Linked DNA regions of Homo sapiens: region 1 is linked to region 2. Evidence: promoter capture Hi-C in 16 types of primary human blood cells and fetal thymus (Javierre and others, 2016). All regions are on one chromosome and are shown on one strand. Each heading gives the region's core, a stretch centred on a gene start or on the middle of the fragment in contact. The rest is flanking DNA. Distances are from core to core; before and after follow the strand shown. Region 1 has its middle 2.9 kb from the start of RNU5B-1. Region 2 holds the start of RAB11A (RAB11A, member RAS oncogene family).

Evidence for each region. Contacts are between HindIII fragments. The CHiCAGO score rates a contact against its expected background, and 5 or more counts as called.
Region 1: a fragment that was not itself captured here is called in contact with the fragment with the promoter of RAB11A in region 2 in 1 of 17 cell types (fetal thymus); the score reaches 8.3 in fetal thymus.

The regions. Positions count from the first base shown.
Region 1 is chr15:65,305,576-65,309,596 of GRCh38, forward strand. No RefSeq gene overlaps it. Among named protein-coding and RNA genes, the nearest start is that of RNU5B-1, 2.9 kb to the left of the region's middle. The HindIII fragment of the contact is 4,735 bases long and covers 1-4,021 here.
Region 2 is chr15:65,867,054-65,871,466 of GRCh38, forward strand. RAB11A (RAB11A, member RAS oncogene family) reads left to right here and starts at 2,438. Exons shown (of 5, transcript NM_004663.5): 1 at 2,438-2,572. The coding sequence starts at 2,533. TRQ-CTG1-4 (tRNA-Gln (anticodon CTG) 1-4) reads right to left here and starts at 2,080; the gene lies at 2,009-2,080. RefSeq lists an enhancer at 2,252-2,311. The HindIII fragment of the contact is 828 bases long and covers 2,288-3,115 here.

The DNA.
Region 1 (4,021 bases), core at 478-2,977, 560 kb before region 2:
AGGCCAAGGCAGGCGGATCACCTGAGGTCAGGAGTTCGAGACCAGCCTGCCCAAGATGGCAAAACCCCGTCTTTACTAAAAATATAAAAAATTAGCCGGGCGTGGTGGTGCCTATAATCCCAGCTACTCGGGAGGCTGAGGCAGAAGAATCGCTTGAACCTGGGAGGCAGAGGTTGCAATGAGCTGAGATCGTGCCACTGCACTCCAGCCCGGGCAACAAGAGTGAAGCTCCATCTCAAAAAAAAAAAAAAAAAGTAAAAAAAAAGAAATGCTCAGAAGTTAATCTTTGTCCATCTGGTAGTTATGAAATTGTAACTTTTAGTGGTTTTTAAATGTTACTTTAGTTTTTGAGACAGGGTCTGGCTTTATCACACAGGCTGGAGTGCAGCGGCATGATATCCTCTCACTGCAGCCTCAACTTCCTGATCCAAGTGATCCCACCTCAGTCTCCCAAGCAGCTGGGACTGCAGGCGTGCACCACCACACTGGCTGATTTTTAAAAATTTTTATTTTGTTTTTATGCTTTTTGTAGAGACAGGATTTCTCCATGTTGCCCAGGGTGAGCTGCTCTGGATCTTCTGAGCTCAAGTTATCCTCCCACCTCGACCTCCCAAAATGCTGGGATTGCAGGTGTGTGCCATTGTGCCTGGCTTTTTTTTTTTTTTTTTCCTTTACAAATGTCTAATCTTCCAGCATTATAGTAATTTTAATGTACATCTCCCTAATTACTAATGAGGTTGAACATCTTTTCAAAGATTTTTTGGCCATTCATAGTTTCTCCTGTAAAATGCCTGTTTGTGCCTTTTGCCCATTTTTTTCTTAGATGGCGAATCTTTTTCTTAGTGGGTATAGTAGTTTTTTGCACAGCTTCTAGACTTCAGAGACTTTAAATAGTAATTCTTTGTTGGTTATATGGTGCAATTACCTTCTCCCAGTTTACAGCTTCTCTTTTTGCTCTTATAGAGTCTCTTGGTGACTGGTTTTAATGTCAGATTGATTTGTTTTTTTTCTTCATTCTCATTTGTACTTTTGTGTGTTTTGTTTAATAAACAACTCACCACCTCAAATTATTAAATAAATTCTGTATCTTTTTAAGTGATGTCTTTCATATTAAGTCCTTGATTCCTCTGGAATTGAATTTTTATGTATAGTGTGAAGTGTGAATCTGGTGTTATTTTTCCCCTGGAAATGATTGGCAATTGTCCAGCACTGTGTATTGACTTGGTACCTCCTTTCCCTAGGGATATGCAGTGACATGTGTCCATGGGTCTGTTTGTCTAAACTTGAGCCAATATTGCACATCCTAATTACTATGAGTTTATAATAAGACTTAAAATCTGGTGGGTGTCATCTCTCTACTTTGTTTTCTTTTTAATAGTAACTTGGCTAAACTTTCTTCTTCCAAAAATGTTTAGAATTGTCTTGTCAATTTCCATGAAAATCCCTATTGCGTCTGAATTAAATCTATAGATTGATTAGGGAGAATTGAATCTTTATCTTATTAATGGACATGATTTGTCTCTCCATATGTTTAGGTCTTCATTTTTTTTTATTCTTTATTTTTTTGAGACAGTCTCACTCTGTCGCCCAGGCTGGAGTGCAGTGGTGCGATCTCGGTTCACTGCAACCTCTGCCTCCCAGGTTCAAGCGATTCTCCTGCCTCAACCTCCCAAGTAGCTGGGATTACAGGTGCCTGCCACCACGCCTAGCTAATTTTTGTATTTTTAGTAGAAACGCGGTTTCACCATGTTGGCCAGGATGGTATCGAACTCCTGACCTCGTGATTTGCCTGTCTCGGGCTCCCAAAATGCTGGGATTACAGGCGTGAGCCACCGTGCCCAGGTCTTCATTATCTTTCAGTAAAGTGTTATAATTTTTCTACTAAAAATCTCACACTTTTTATTAATTTCTAAAATAATATCTCCTAACTGTACACTGCGGTTTTATAGAAATTCAGTGAACCTGTATGGGATCTTACATCTGGCAACCTTACTTGATTTATTAACTTTAATCTATGTGTAGATTATTTTCAGTTTTCTACCTATATAATCTCATTATCTGGGGATTTTTTTCAATTTTTCCTTTCTAATATTTATAATTATTTTTATTTATTTATTTATTTTTGAGAAGGAGTCTTGCTCTGTCATCCAGGCTGCAGTGCAATGATGCAATCTTGGCTCACACAACCTCCGCCTCCCAGGTTCAAGTGATTCTCGTGCCTCAGCCTCTGGAGTAGCTGGGATTACAGGTGCACCCCATCATGACCAACTAATTTTTGTATTTAAGTAGAGCTGGGGTTTCACCATGTTGGCCAGGCTGGTCTCGAACTCCTGACCTCAAGTGATCTGCCCACTTCAGCCTCCCAAAGTGTTGGGATTACAGGCGTGAGCCACTGCGCACGGCCTCAATTCAGTTTTGGATGTAGGACTTTTCCTTTTTTTTCTTGAGACAGGGTCTCCCTCTATCAACCAGGCTGGAGTATAGTGGTATAATCATGGCTGACTGCAGCTTCTACCTATCAGGCTCAAGTGATCCTCCTACTTCAGCTTCCTGAGTAGCTGGGACTACGGGCATGCACCACCACGCCCAGCTATTTGAATTGTTTTGTAGAGACAGTCTCACCATGTTGCCCAGGTTAGTCTCAAACTCCTGGATTCAAGCGATCCCACTGACTCAGCCTCCCAAAGTGCTGGCATTACAGGCGTGAGCCATCGTGCCCCACCCGGACTTTTCTTTCACATGTGAAACTGAGCCAGGAGTGGTGGCTGTAAACCCAGCTACTTAGGGGACCAAATTGGGAGGATCACTTGAGGCTGGGAGTTCGAGACCAGCCTAGGTGAAATAGTGAGACCCTGTCTCTAAAAGAATAATTTTAAAAAATGGTAAAATTGGCCAGGTGCAATGGCTCATGCCTATAATCCCAATACTTTGGGAGGCCAAGGCACATGGATTGCTTGTGGTCAGGAGTTTGAGACCAGCCTAGCTAACATGGTGAAACCCTGTCTCTACTAAAATACAAAAATTAGCTGGGCATGATGGTGTGTGCCTGTAATCCCAGCTACTCAGGAGGCTGAGGTGGGAGAATTGCTTGAACCTGGGAGGTGGAAGTTGCAGTGAGCCAAGATTCTGCCACTCTACTCTAGCCTGAGTGACAGAGGGAGACTCTCTCTCAAAAAGAAAAAGAAAAAAGTAGTTCGAGACCAGCTTGACCAACATGGTAAAACCCCATCTCTACTAAAAATACAAAAATTAGCTGGGTGTGGTGGTGGGCGCCTGTAGTCCAAACTATTTGGGAGGCGGAGGCAGGACAATCGCTCGAACCCAGGATGCAGAGGTTGCAGTGAGCTGAGATCACACCACTGCACACCAACCTGGGTAACAGAGTGAGGCTCTGTCTCAAAAATAAGTAAGTAAGTAAATAAATAAATAAGGCCGGGCACAGTGGCTCACACCTGTAATCCCAGCGCTTTAGGAGGCCAAGGTGGGCGGATCACCTGAGGTCAGGAGTTCGAGACCAGCCTGACCAACATGGAGAAACCCCATCTCTACTAAAAATACAAAATTAGCTTGGTATGGTGGTGCATGCCTGTAATCCCAGCTATTCGGGAGGCTGAGGCAGGAGAATCGCTTGAACCTGGGAGGTGGAGGTTGCGGTGAGCAGAGATCGCGCCATTGCACTACAACCTGGGCAACAAGAGCAATACTCTGTTTCAAAAAACAAAAAAAGCCCAGGCGTGGTGGCTCATGCCTGTAATCCCAGAACTTTAGGAAGCCGAGGCGGGTGAATCATGAGGTCAGGAGATTGACACCAGCCTGGCCAACATGGTAAAACCCCATCTCTACTGAAAATACAAAAATTAGCTGGGTGTGGTGGCATATGCCTGTAGTCCCAGCTACTTGGGAAGCTGAGGCAGGAGAATTGCTTGAACCAGGGAGTCAGAGGTTGTAGTGAGCCGAGATCACGCCACTGCACTCCAGCCTGGCGACAGAGTAAGACTCTATCTGTAAATAAATAAATAAA
Region 2 (4,413 bases), core at 1,188-3,687:
TCTCAAAGCTGAAGAACTTGCAGTCCAATGTTCGAGGGCAGGAAACATCCAGCACGGGAGAAAGATGTAGGCTGGGAGGCTAAGCCAGTTTAGCCTTTTCATATTTTTCTGCCTGCTTTATATTCGCTGGCAGCTGATTAGATGGTGCCCACCCGGATTAAGGGTGGGTCTGCCTTTCCCAGCCCATTGACTCAACTGTTTCTGCTTTGGGAACACCCTCACAGACACAACCAGGATCAATACTTTGGATCCTTCAATTCAATCAAGCTGACACTCAGTATTAACCAACACACCATTTTTATTAGTCATGCTTGAGACTAAATTAAACATTAGTGTTCTTTTTTTTTTTTTTGAGGAGTCTTACTCTGTCACCAGGCTGGAGTGCAGTGGCGCAATCTCGGCTCTCTGCAACCTCCATCTCCTTGGTTCAAGCAATTCTCCTGCCTCAGCCTCCTGAGTAGCTGGGATTACAGGACCTTAGATAAACTTACTATCACTTTATAGCAGTAGAGAAAGCACGGAAATTGGCACTGTATTTGTTTTCTATTGCTTCTATAACAAATTACCACAAACTTGGTGACATAAAACAACACAAATTTATTGCTTAAAGTTCTGTAGGTCACAGGTCTGACAAGTGTCTCATTGGGCTAAAATCAAGTTGTCAGCAGGGCTGTGTTCCTTCTGGGGGCCTTATGGAAGAATCTGTTTCCATGCCTTTCCCAGCTTCTAGAAGCCTCCAGATTCCTAGGCTCCTGGGCCCTTTCCTCCATCTTCAAAGCCAGCAAGGGCAGATTGAGGTCTTTTCAAGTCACATCACTCTGACCTCTTCTGCCTCCATTTTCCACTTTTTTTTTTTTTTTTTTGAGAACGAGTCTCTCTCTGTTGCCCAGGCTGGAGTGCAGTGGCGTGGTATCAGCTCACTGCAACCTCCGCTTCCCGGGTTCCAGCAATTCTCATGCCTAAGCCTCCAGAGTAGCTGGGACTACAGGCACCCACCACCACGCCAGACTAATTTTTTGTATTTTAGTAGCGACAGGGTTTCACCTTGTTGGCCAGGCTGGTCTTGAACTCTTGACCTCAGGTGATCCACCCACCTTGGCCTCCCAAAGTGCTGGAATTAAGGCCTGAGCCACCGTGCCCAGCCCATTTTCTACTTTTAAGGACCTTATGACAACACTGGGCCCACCCAACTAATCCAGGATAATATCCCTAATTTAATGTCAGCTGATAAGCAACCTTAATTTCATCTGTAACCTCAATTCCCCTTTGCCATGTAACCTAACCTATTCAGTCTCCAGGAATTGGGAAGTGGACATCATTGGCAGGGGGCATTATTCTGCTTGTTATAGGCATACTTGCCCACAAGTCTAAATCGAGAGTTTGCATATAGGAGGTAGGAGGTGTGACAATAATTGGATAAAGGCTTTTCTGGAATGACAAAATTCTCTTCAAATACAGGGAGGCCCTGCGACATGATATCTGGCAAATCACTTGAGTCTTAGTATCCAAACTTCCGCTAAAATGGAAATTACCATCCTTTGCTTGGCATGTTAAATGAAATACTTATGTAAACGGACTTAGATTAGAGGCCTACAAATAGGACTCAAGTTCTTGATGAATCTTGATGAGGAGGGTGGGCGAAGTACTCTAAATGAAAATGAGATAGATTGCGAGATTTCCGGAGAGGAGTGAGTGACAAGCGCCTACCCGTGCATGAAGCTGGAGGTAGAAAATTCCAGCAAAAGGAATTTTCAAGTTTCACTGAAGCTTTTGAATCAAGGCTTGAAAGCCCAGGGTTAAAAAAAAGGCAGTGAAGAAGCTCATTAAGACAACCCCCCGCCAGGTAGCAGATAGCACCTGAAATGCAGTGGGAAATTTGTGAGGTCTTCATAGGCAAGGATTAAATTTTACATCTCCATCTTAAGATGTGTCATAGTTGTTCAATTACTTAGTGACCAAAAAAGTGAATTAAAGATGTTGTCAAGATTAAAAAAACAAAAACCAATGCAGGTTCCACCGAGATTTGAACTCGGATCGCTGGATTCAGAGTCCAGAGTGCTAACCATTACACCATGGAACCGCCACGCATGTGTAGCTGCCTTCGGCTGTCTAATCCTCAGAGAACCCCGCCCCCATCCACAAACCCACCACTCACAGGCGGTCCCGCCTGGTTCCAGCGAGCCGCTTCCGGCACGGTAGCTCGAGAAATGAGCAAGCGGCCACTAAGACTATGGTAGCTAGGAGTTCCAGGACTCAGTTTCCCCTTTGAGCCTCCTTTAGCGACTAAAGCTTGAAGCCCCACGCATCTCGACTCTCGCGCACACCGCCCTTGTTGGGCTCAGGGGCGGGGCGCCGCCCCCGGAAGTACTTCCCCTTAAAGGCTGGGGCCTGCCGGAAATGGCGCAGCGGCAGGGAGGGGCTCTTCACCCAGTCCGGCAGTTGAAGCTCGGCGCTCGGGTTACCCCTGCAGCGACGCCCCCTGGTCCCACAGATACCACTGCTGCTCCCGCCCTTTCGCTCCTCGGCCGCGCAATGGGCACCCGCGACGACGAGTACGACTACCTCTTTAAAGGTGAGGCCATGGGCTCTCGCACTCTACACAGTCCTCGTTCGGGGACCCGGGCCACTCCCGGTGGACCCTCGTGCCGGCCACCCCTGCACTGATATAGGCCTCCCTCAGCCCTTCCTTTTTGTGCGGTTCCGTCTCCTACCCAGCTCAGCCTCTTCTCCCCCGCTCAGACAGGGGTCCCCATCACATGCCGCTCTCTGAGCGACCTCTCCATAGGCCTTCGCTGGCCTCAGAGCCCCTCCCTGCGTGTCCTTCCCCTGGCGGACTGCCTTCTCCCACATCGTCGAATTCCTTTCCCCGGGTTCTACGGCCCCGCCGCTCCTCCCACCATCTCTCTTTTCGGGTGTAGCGCCCCCTCCCCCTCGGCGTACACCCTTCCCAGCTCGCGTCCTCTCCCGAAGCCCCTCTGACGGGTTCTTCGCTTCCCTCTTGGCCTTGCCTTCGGTGCAGACTCCCATTACAGGTCTTTTTCTTATCTGCCCTCTTTCCCCCCTCGAGCGAGCGTCTCTTCTGTATCTCCCCTCCACTTGGACGGCCGCCCCTCTAAGCTTCTCCCATCCCGGGTCCAGGACCCCGTAAAATCTGAGCGGGCCAAGGGCCTCCGCCCCCACCCTCCGCCCCGCGGTTCTCGCGGTCCTTAACCTTCTCTGACCGCTCCCTCTCCCACTCCCCATTTGGCAACTCTCTCTACCTTCCCTCCCCAAATCGTGTTTAGAGCTCCCTTGTCTCCGTTGCGACCTGGGTGGTGGGAGGGAGGGTAAGAGGGATCGCCCATCACCCACTCGCGCACTTGTCGCAGTGACCCGGCAGGCTGACATTACTTCCCACCTAGCCTTTTCTTTTCTTGCCCTCCCTACTCAGTGGCACCCAACCCGGGATAACTCTTTACTCGGTTCGCGAGATGAGGTTGCGGATGGGTGGTGGCTGTTATCCTTGCCAGACCTGAAGGCCTGGTTCCTGAGCAGGAAAGGTTGTGCGCTGCACAAATACTAGCTTGCTTTATCTCTATGAACTGGTTGCTTCCTGCTGCAACGCTGGGAGGATCCAACAGGAAGGGAAGAGCCCTAGTTAGCCACATACCTTTCCCAAAAGGTTGGGGGTGGGAGGAAGTTGTGTGCTCTTTTGGTTACATTAAATATTTATTATAAGATACGGAAACATGTAGTGCCCTTGGACAGAACATATTGGAGGGTCAGGGTTGGTTAGAAAGAATTGCTTATTGGTTGAGTCCGGAAGGAATCCGGTTTTTTTTTTTAATCAACGAAGATAAAGGGTACATTTTTCAATGAGAAGAGAGTACAGTAGATGCTTTTTTTGTTCAGTGAATGCACTCTCACTCTGATGCTCTTTCTCTGCTCCTGAATTGGGAAGGTAGCCATCAGTAGTGTGCCGAACAAAGATCATTACCACTGAGGAAGAAGCCATTGCTATTAAAGCTTTACTGTGGAGGGTGGAGTTTCAAGAGTGTTAAGCATGGTGACTGTTTCTGTCTTTGCCATTGGGTGCTAAGAATGATTGACTAAACCAAGCAGGAAAGATTTCTTTGCTTTCCCAATACTTTGCAAATCTTGTTATACTAACTAGTCTGCTGTTATACTCTTATCATCTCTTACTCCTCTGACTCAGAATATTCTACTGTATAGGGTGAATACTTTTGGTATCCACCCTCCCCCTCCATACTGGAAAGTACTTTCAGGGTACTTAGTTCATTTTACAAATACAAAACTGAGGCCTGGATTACAAAAAGTATATGACAGCATACCTTTTGCCGAAGGTATCTGAGATGATGTGAAACTATTTGAATCTCTTGAGACTTTGGGGTTAAAGGTTAGGTTTGTGTTTTG